2 separate regions of the Homo sapiens genome follow, and region 2 is linked to region 1. Evidence: promoter capture Hi-C in 16 types of primary human blood cells and fetal thymus (Javierre and others, 2016). All regions are on one chromosome and are shown on one strand. Each heading gives the region's core, a stretch centred on a gene start or on the middle of the fragment in contact. The rest is flanking DNA. Distances are from core to core; before and after follow the strand shown. Region 1 holds the start of VPS33B (VPS33B late endosome and lysosome associated). Region 2 overlaps IQGAP1 (IQ motif containing GTPase activating protein 1).

Region 1 (3,966 bases), core at 591-3,090:
CCCCCTGGGTTATTTTAAAGCAAATCCCAAACATATTTTAGTTTTTTTTTTTATTTTTTAAGAGACAGATCGGGCCAGGCATGGCGGCTCATGCCTACAATCCCAGCATTTTGGGAGACTGAGGCGGGAAGATCACCTGAGGTCAGGAGTTCAAGACCAGCCTGACCAACATGGAGAAACTCTGTCTCTACTAAAAATACAAAATTAGCTGGGTGCGTGGCACATGCCTGTAATCCCAGCTACTCAGGAGGCTGCAGCAGGAGAAACGCTTGAACCTGGGAGGTGGAGGTTGCAGTGAGCTGAGATCGTGCCATTGCACTCCAGCCTGAGCAACAAGAGCGAAACTCCATCTCAAAAAAAAAAGAGACAGAACATATCACTGCACTCCAGCCTGGGTGATAGATAAAGCCAGACCTTGTCTCAAAAAAAAAAAAAGAAAAGAAAAAACAAACGGTGTCTCACTCTGTTGCCCAGGCTGGGGTGCTGTAGCATGATCGTAGCGCACTGCAGCCTCAAACTCCTGGGCTCAAGTGATCCTCCTGCCTCAGCCTCCCAAGTATCGAGATTAAAGGTGCCCACCACCATGCCTGGCTATTTTTTATGTGTTGTAGTTGACCAATCTTATCTCAAACTCCTGGCCTCAAGCAACCCCCCGACCCCGACCTGGACCTCCCAAAGTGGTGGGAATTAGAGACATGAACCATTACTCCTGGCCAAATTATTTCACCTGTAAAAACTTCAGTATGTATCTCAAAGAGATAAGGACTTGTTTTTAACAGAAATACAAGCCTGTATGACATAGAAATACAAAAAATAATAATAACATAGAAATACAATACCTGGCCCAACGTTGTGGCTCACGCCTGTAATCCCAGCACTTTGGGAGGCCAAGGCAGGCGGATCACTTGAGGTCAGGAGTTCGAGATCAGCCTGGCCAACATAATGAAACCCCGTCTCTACCAAAAATACAAAAATTAGCCGGGCATGGTGGCACTCGCCTGTAATCCCAGTCTACTCGGGAGACTGAGGCAGGAGAATCTCTTGAACCTGGGGCGGCAGGGGGGTTGTGGCGCGGAGCTTGCAGTGAGCCGAGCTCCTCCACTAGGCAAAAGGGCGAGACTCTGTCAGGAAAAAAAAGAGAAGAAAAGAAATACAATACCCGAAAAGTTTTAGTAATTCCTTAAATCAGTTATCTTTGAATTATTATCCAAAAAAGATCCACACATTGAAACATTTTGTTGATACATCTCTTAAATCTCTTTTATTCTGAAGTGTTTTCCCCTCCCACATTTCCCACTTTGCCATTTTTTTGAAGACGACAGATCATTTGTCCCATATAATTTCCTACATTTTGGATATGGTTGATTTCATACCTTTGGTGTCTTAACATATTCCTGCTAATCTCTATATAGCCTATAAACTGGTAGTTAGATCTTGAGGCTTGATTAGGTTCAATTTTTGGCAATAGGTGATGCTCTGTATTTCCTATGCATCTCACCAGGAAATGATATGATGGTATGATTGATCAGAGTTGAGGTATTGTTAGCTAGCCTGATGCATTCATTATGTCTTTTTTTTTTTTTTTTTTTTTTTTTTTGAGGCAAGGTCTAGCTTTGTTGCCCAGGCTGGGGTGCAGTAGCGCGATCGCAGTTCACTGCAACCTCCGCCTCCCTGACTCGAGCGATTCTCCCACCTCAGCCTCTGGAGTGCTGCGACCCCAGGCGCCGCCACCTAATTAATAGACGCGTTGCCTCCGTTTTTCAAATGTCCCTTTCAGGACGCCGTCCCCTTCCTGGTACGCGAAGCGCTGGGAGCGAAAGGGACTTCCGGGAGATCTAGGAAGTCGCTTCTTTTTCTGGTAGAAGGCGGGGTTCTCCTCGTACGCTGCGGAGTCTCTGCGGGGTGTAGACCGGAATCCTGCTGACGGGCAGAGTGGATCAGGGAGGGAGGGTCGAGACACGGTGGCTGCAGGTCTGAGACAAGGCTGCTCCGAGGTAGTAGCTCTCTTGCCTGGAGGTGGCCATTCATTCCTGGAGTGCTGCTGAGGAGCGAGGGCCCATCTGGGGTCTCTGGAAGTCGGTGCCCAGGCCTGAAGGATAGCCCCCCTTGCGCTTCCCTGGGCTGCGGCCGGCCTTCTCAGAACGAAGGGCGTCCTTCCACCCCGCGGCGCAGGTGACCGCTGCCATGGCTTTTCCCCATCGGCCGGACGCCCCTGAGCTGCCTGACTTCTCCATGCTGAAGAGGCTGGCTCGAGACCAGCTCATCTATCTGCTGGAGCAGGTCAGTGCTTGCCTGACGCCTTTATCGCATCTACAGTTTAGCACTCATTGGATGCACATTTCTTCCTTGCCGTGCCCCTTTGATCTTGTTCTTGGCCCCTGGTATTGTCCTTGGCGCTTCCCCAGCAGGTCCAGAATGAATCCAGGGAGTAGTAAGAGCTGTTTGGAACCTGGCCAGAGAGTTAATGGAAATCACCCCCCAACCCCGCATACAGGCAAGGGAGACACCATTAGTGCCAGGCATCCCTAGGGACGGAAAGATGGTTAAGACATCTTTGCCATTAGGGATCTTACCACTCCAGTAGGAGCTGTATGAAGCACAAATTATCACACACAGGTGGTAAATGAGTGATAGAGCTAGTGTACCCGAAGAGTTCACAGTAAGTGATCATTTCTAGTTGGGGTGATGATCTAGGAGCTTCAAGGAAGTGAGTGTGAGTAATAAGCATATTTTCTTTGGAGACTAAGCATGCTCCAGGCAGATAGATTGGTAGGAGCAAAGTTGGCAAACCAGGGAAAGACAAGGCATGTAAGGGAAGACACCCATCAGCAGTTACACAGTAGCCACTGAAAAAAATTTTTTTTCCATTTGTGGCATGAGACAATACTTGATGATTCTAATAGTGATGTGTGTGGTGGCGTAAATGGGCAACAAGAAGGCCAGTTAGGAGACCGTAGATCAGACAAGAAATAAAGGCCCACACAAAATTGGTAGCAGTGGGAATGAAGGAAAGTGATGGATTTTTAAGTTATGGTGAAAGAAAACTCAAAGACTTACTGATTGGTTATAAATGTTGAAGGAGAAGCAAAAATGAGTGAGATTTTTAACCTGGGTTATTAGGAAAATAATACTGCCACTGTGATTTTAATGGATTACTTGTGTAATCATTTAGTTATTCATTTTATGTCTGTATTCCTCATTAGACTGGAAGGTGGGCAGGGATCATGTTTGTTTTGTTCAACACTACCTAGTGAGTACCTAGCTTAGAGTCAAGCACACACCATGTGCTTAATAAATATTTGTTGTATTAACATTGAATAGAAATGAGAAAAATAATTAGAAAAAGGAACAGGTTTGATGGGGGAAGTTGATTTGTTTGGGTTTGGATGGGGGAAGTTAAGATGCCCGTAAGAAATATAGCTTGTAACATCCAGCAGATAGAAATGTAGAACTGCAGCTGCATTGTGAGGACTGGAAGGAAGATGGATCAAGATGAGAACTGCAGGGCATCTTAGACCAGATTTTATTTCTATTTTATTTTATTTATTTTTTTGAGACACAGTCTCACTCCGTTGCCCAGGCTGGAGTGCAGTGGCGCGATCTTGGCTAACTGCAACCTCCACCTCCCGGGTTCAGGCGATTCTTCTGCCTCAGCCTCCCCAGTAGTTGGGATTACAGGCGCACGCTAGCCCACCTGGCTAATGTTTGTATTTTTAGTAGAGATAGGGTTTCACCATGTTGGCCAGGCTGGTCTCAAACTCCTGACCTCAGGTAATCTGCCCGTCCCAGCCTCCCAAAGTGCTGGGATTATAGGCTTGAGCTACCACTCCCGGCTTCTTTCTCTTTAATACTTAGTGCTTGCACAGTGACATGCACATAAAAGACTTGCAACAATGTCTGAAGAATTTAAAAGAGGTGCTAGTTAAAGCCACTAGTTCAGGTGAGATCAAGTAGAGGAGACCAAGA
Region 2 (3,966 bases), core at 770-3,269, 580 kb after region 1:
GCATCTGGATGCCATACTTCTCCAACTCAGTCTTCATGTTGTTGATTTCTTCTTCTACAGGAGGGAATTAATAATCAGTCAATCAAGCTAAGCACCCTTCCATAACCAAGAGAAGGAAACATATTCCTCAACTATGCAATGGGATAAAATGGCATTTACCTTTTAGGGTTTTATAAGGATATAAAGATACAATGTATGGAAAGCACTTAACACAGTAACTAGTATATAAAATGTAGTCAAACGTTATTATTATCAAGGGCATCAAAAATAACTATAAAGTGAGAAGGTCCTACAGGAAATAGTTTTTCAAAATTGCTACTTATGGCATTTCCTACAATGAACTTATAAATGGAACAGCTTTAACGTGAGCTCAACAATAAGTGAATCACAAACTAAGTCAGTTATCTCAGTCTTTACAATCATTAGCTGCTATTCAACAATTTCATTTCTAAGGCAGAAAGCCAAATGATAAAGAAAACATGTAAGGTCTGGTCCTTTCCCCAGGTCTGGTGAATAACTTCCCTGGAAGGAAAAAATATCATGGACAAAAACTTTCTTACCAATTTTTAAACTTTCAAGCCTACAAAATAATCACCACTTTGAAAGACTTGAATCTATCTTACCCTTAAACAGTATTACCACTGCCCTTTTTCTCCCCAACCCCTCATCTCTTCAAGCATCTGGCTATAGCAAATACACATAGAAACACCCACCCAAATAAGCTTAAATTTTAAAATTACTAAATTGGCATCTTTGTGTCATCTCACTCCCCACTCTCCCTCTTGCTTTGCCCACAACAGATGCTTGCTGGAATGGAAAGGGAAAGATAGTTATAAAGCTTTTTTCAACATACCCGAACATTTAGTGTTATGTGTTAACATTATTATGTTTTATATATGTTAATGTTATCCCCAATTTACATATAAGAAAACTGAGACTCACTAATCATGTTCACATTATTAAGTGAGAGAACAGAGCTTGAAATTTCAAGTTTAGTGTTCTTTACCCCACATTAGAGAAGCAAGTTATTCGTATTTTTTTCACCTCCACTGCCAGTGTATTTTTAAAGCCCTAGGTCTTCAAAATTGGTACTGCTGGCTCTCCAGGCTATTTCCACATAATTCAAGCATTTCCTGCCAAGTATCTAACTCCTTACCTGTGAAGTCAACCTTTCCATATAGGTCTTGAATCTGAGGGGCCAGGCCTAGCTTGAACAGGTACAAACTAGAAGATACAATATGCAAAAGGTTAGGCCTCCCAGCTGTGCCTAGCTGCCACCCTTAAAAGGCGAAAATCAGCATGAAGTATAAAATAGAAGTATTCTGAACACTGAGACTCCCAGTACCTACGACAGTCTCCTTTGTAGTTACAATACGCTATTTACCTCAGTTTTTTTTTTTTAGTTTACATGACAACATTGTCCTAAAAAGTCACATAACACAATGCAAAGAGCACTGGACTGGGAGAAATCAGTAGGCACAAATTAAAGTCCCGGTTCTGGCACAAACTCAATGCATAATTAGATGTTAATGGCCAGGCACAGTGGCTCATGCCTGTAATCCCAGCACTTTGGGAGGCTGAGGTGGGCGGATCACCTGACATCAGGAGCTTGAGACCAGCCTGGCCAACATGACAAAACCCTGTCTCTACTAAAAATACAAAAATTAGCCAGGCGTGGTGGCATGTGCCTGTAATCCCAGCTATTCAGGAGGCTGAGGCAGGAGAATTGCTTGAACCTGGGAGGCAAAGGCTGCAGTGAGCCGAGATCACACCACTGTACTCCAGCCTGGGCAACAGTGTGAGATTCCGTTTCAAAAAAAAAAAAGATGTTAACATTAATGTTAATATAATGTGAAGTGTCTCTTCATTTGTTTGCCTTCCTGTAATCAATAAGTTTTAAATAATAAGACATTTTAGAAAAGCTTCATAAAAATGATTCAGATGGCAAATCTTACTTAAACTGAATTCATATTACTGATGGAAAAGTTTAATCCAGGTAATTTAACAGTTTTAGATAAAGAATATTTCATATATTTTTACTTTTTAATTATCAGGTTGGTGAAAATTATTTTTACTTTTTAAACTTAAAAAAAAATCAACTAGACTCTAAGCTTCATGAAAGCAGGGACAATACAGGGCTCATTCACTAATGTTTACCCAGAGCCTAGCATATATTAATAAACATTAATCAATATTTGACAGATGGATGGACGGATAAATTAATGTCCATAAGCCTGTGTTATTAAGTGGATTCTAAAGCCCTAACTGATCAGAATCAATAAATTAGAAGAGATCAGAAGGGTACTTTACAGATACTGACAAAAGCAAGATATTGACAGTTTAAAGTAAGCAGGGAAATAAGAAATATATAAGAAATAAATCATAGAAACTTAAAGTGGTATACAGTTTTTGTAAATAATCTATAAACCTCAATATCATCTAAATACAAACACGCATCATGTACACTGCAATCACAGAACTGATCAAAATTTAAATTGTATATAATAAACCCAAATGTATAATAGAAAAACAAAAATCAAGTATTCTCAAAACACACTAGAATTTATACATCCACAGAAGCTAAACATTTTCTCAGAGAAGTGCAAGTATAAGTCATGTGTATATGATTAAATGCTTTTCTTTCAGGTAAAAGACTCAAGATGGATATATAAAGCGCCTGTCTCAGAAGATTTTAAATGTATTCAAAAAATTCTCCAGACTGGGTGTAGTGGCTCACACCTGTAATTCCAGTACTTTGAGAAAGAGAGGCAGGAGGATAGCTTGAGGTCAGGAATTCAAAACAGCTTGAGCAACATAGCAAGACTTGTCTCTACAAAAAAAATTTCTTAATTAGCCAGGTATGGTGGTGCATGCCTGTAGTCCTAGCCATTTGGGAGGCTAAGGCAGGAGGATAGCTTGTGCCTGGGAGGTTGTTACAATGAGTCAAGATCACACCTCTGCGTTCCAGCCTAGGCAAAAGAGTAAGACCCTGCCTCTTTAAAAAAGAAATTCCAAAGCAAAATAACTAATAACTTTCTATATATTTTTATACATTTTTATATATTTTTTATATATTTTTCTCACTAATACATCACATCTGCATTCTTAATTAAGAGAATATTTTTCTCCAAGAATTTCTTTCTCATTTATTCCTACTTGGAAATAGCGAACAAGAAATTTTAAGAAAGTTCAAGAATGTTGCTGATATGGTTTGGGTCTGTGTCCCTGTCCAAATCTCATGTCAAATTGTAATCCCCAGGTGGGGGCCTGGTGAGAGGTGATTGGATCAATGGGGGCAGGTTTCCCCCTTGGTGCTGTTCTCCTAACAGTGAGTGAGTTATCGCTAGATTTGGTTTTTTAAAAGTATGTAAGCACCTCCCCACCTCTCTCTTCCTCTTGTTCCTGCCACGTGAGACGTGACTGCTTCCTCTTTGTCTTCTACCATGATTGTAAGTTTCCTGAGGAGGTCTCCCCAGCCATGCTTCTTGTACAGGCTGTGGAACCTTAAGCCAGTTAAACCTCTTTTCTTTATGAATTACCCAGTCTCAGGTATTTCTTTATAGCAGTACAAGAACGGACTAATACAGTTGCTTTCACAGTACCAGGAACACTGACTTAGCTTTTAATGTCTTTCAGTGGTAAATTAAAGGTGCTACAACCGTATCACTGGCTAATATAAAAAGTAGACATGGGCACCATCTTTCTTTTAACTCTCTTTAATTATTACGAGTATTTTATGGAGACACTGGAGCTATGAAAGGATTCAAAACGGCCAGTTAAGTCCTCTTACCCACAATCAAAAGTACTTAGCTTCACACTGAAACTTATAAACCCTAATGGTGAACAGCACTTTCCAATCTTTGCTCCTGCTCTCCCATGCCTACTTCTACAAATATACTGTTAGGCACTATAATGCGTCAGCCTGTAACTGCACTTAGATTTATTTTTCTTATTTCCTACTTAAGC

Evidence for each region. Contacts are between HindIII fragments. The CHiCAGO score rates a contact against its expected background, and 5 or more counts as called.
Region 2: a contact is called between a fragment that was not itself captured here and the fragment with the promoter of VPS33B in region 1, in 1 of 17 cell types (total B cells). The highest score is 5.9, in total B cells.

Annotation. Positions count from the first base shown.
Region 1 is chr15:91,020,468-91,024,433 of GRCh38, reverse strand. VPS33B (VPS33B late endosome and lysosome associated) reads left to right here and starts at 1,840. Exons shown (of 23, transcript NM_018668.5): 1 at 1,840-2,280. The coding sequence starts at 2,185. VPS33B-DT (VPS33B divergent transcript) reads right to left here and starts at 1,812. Exons shown (of 4, transcript NR_110104.1): 1 at 1,694-1,812; 2 at 463-1,121. RefSeq lists enhancers at 1,876-2,285, 2,140-2,756. The HindIII fragment of the contact is 24,262 bases long and covers 1-3,966 here.
Region 2 is chr15:90,436,590-90,440,555 of GRCh38, reverse strand. IQGAP1 (IQ motif containing GTPase activating protein 1) reads right to left here. Exons shown (of 38, transcript NM_003870.4): 6 at 1,157-1,224; 7 at 1-54. Among named protein-coding and RNA genes, the nearest start is that of IQGAP1, 50 kb to the right of the region's middle. RefSeq lists a silencer at 3,292-3,492. The HindIII fragment of the contact is 189 bases long and covers 1,925-2,113 here.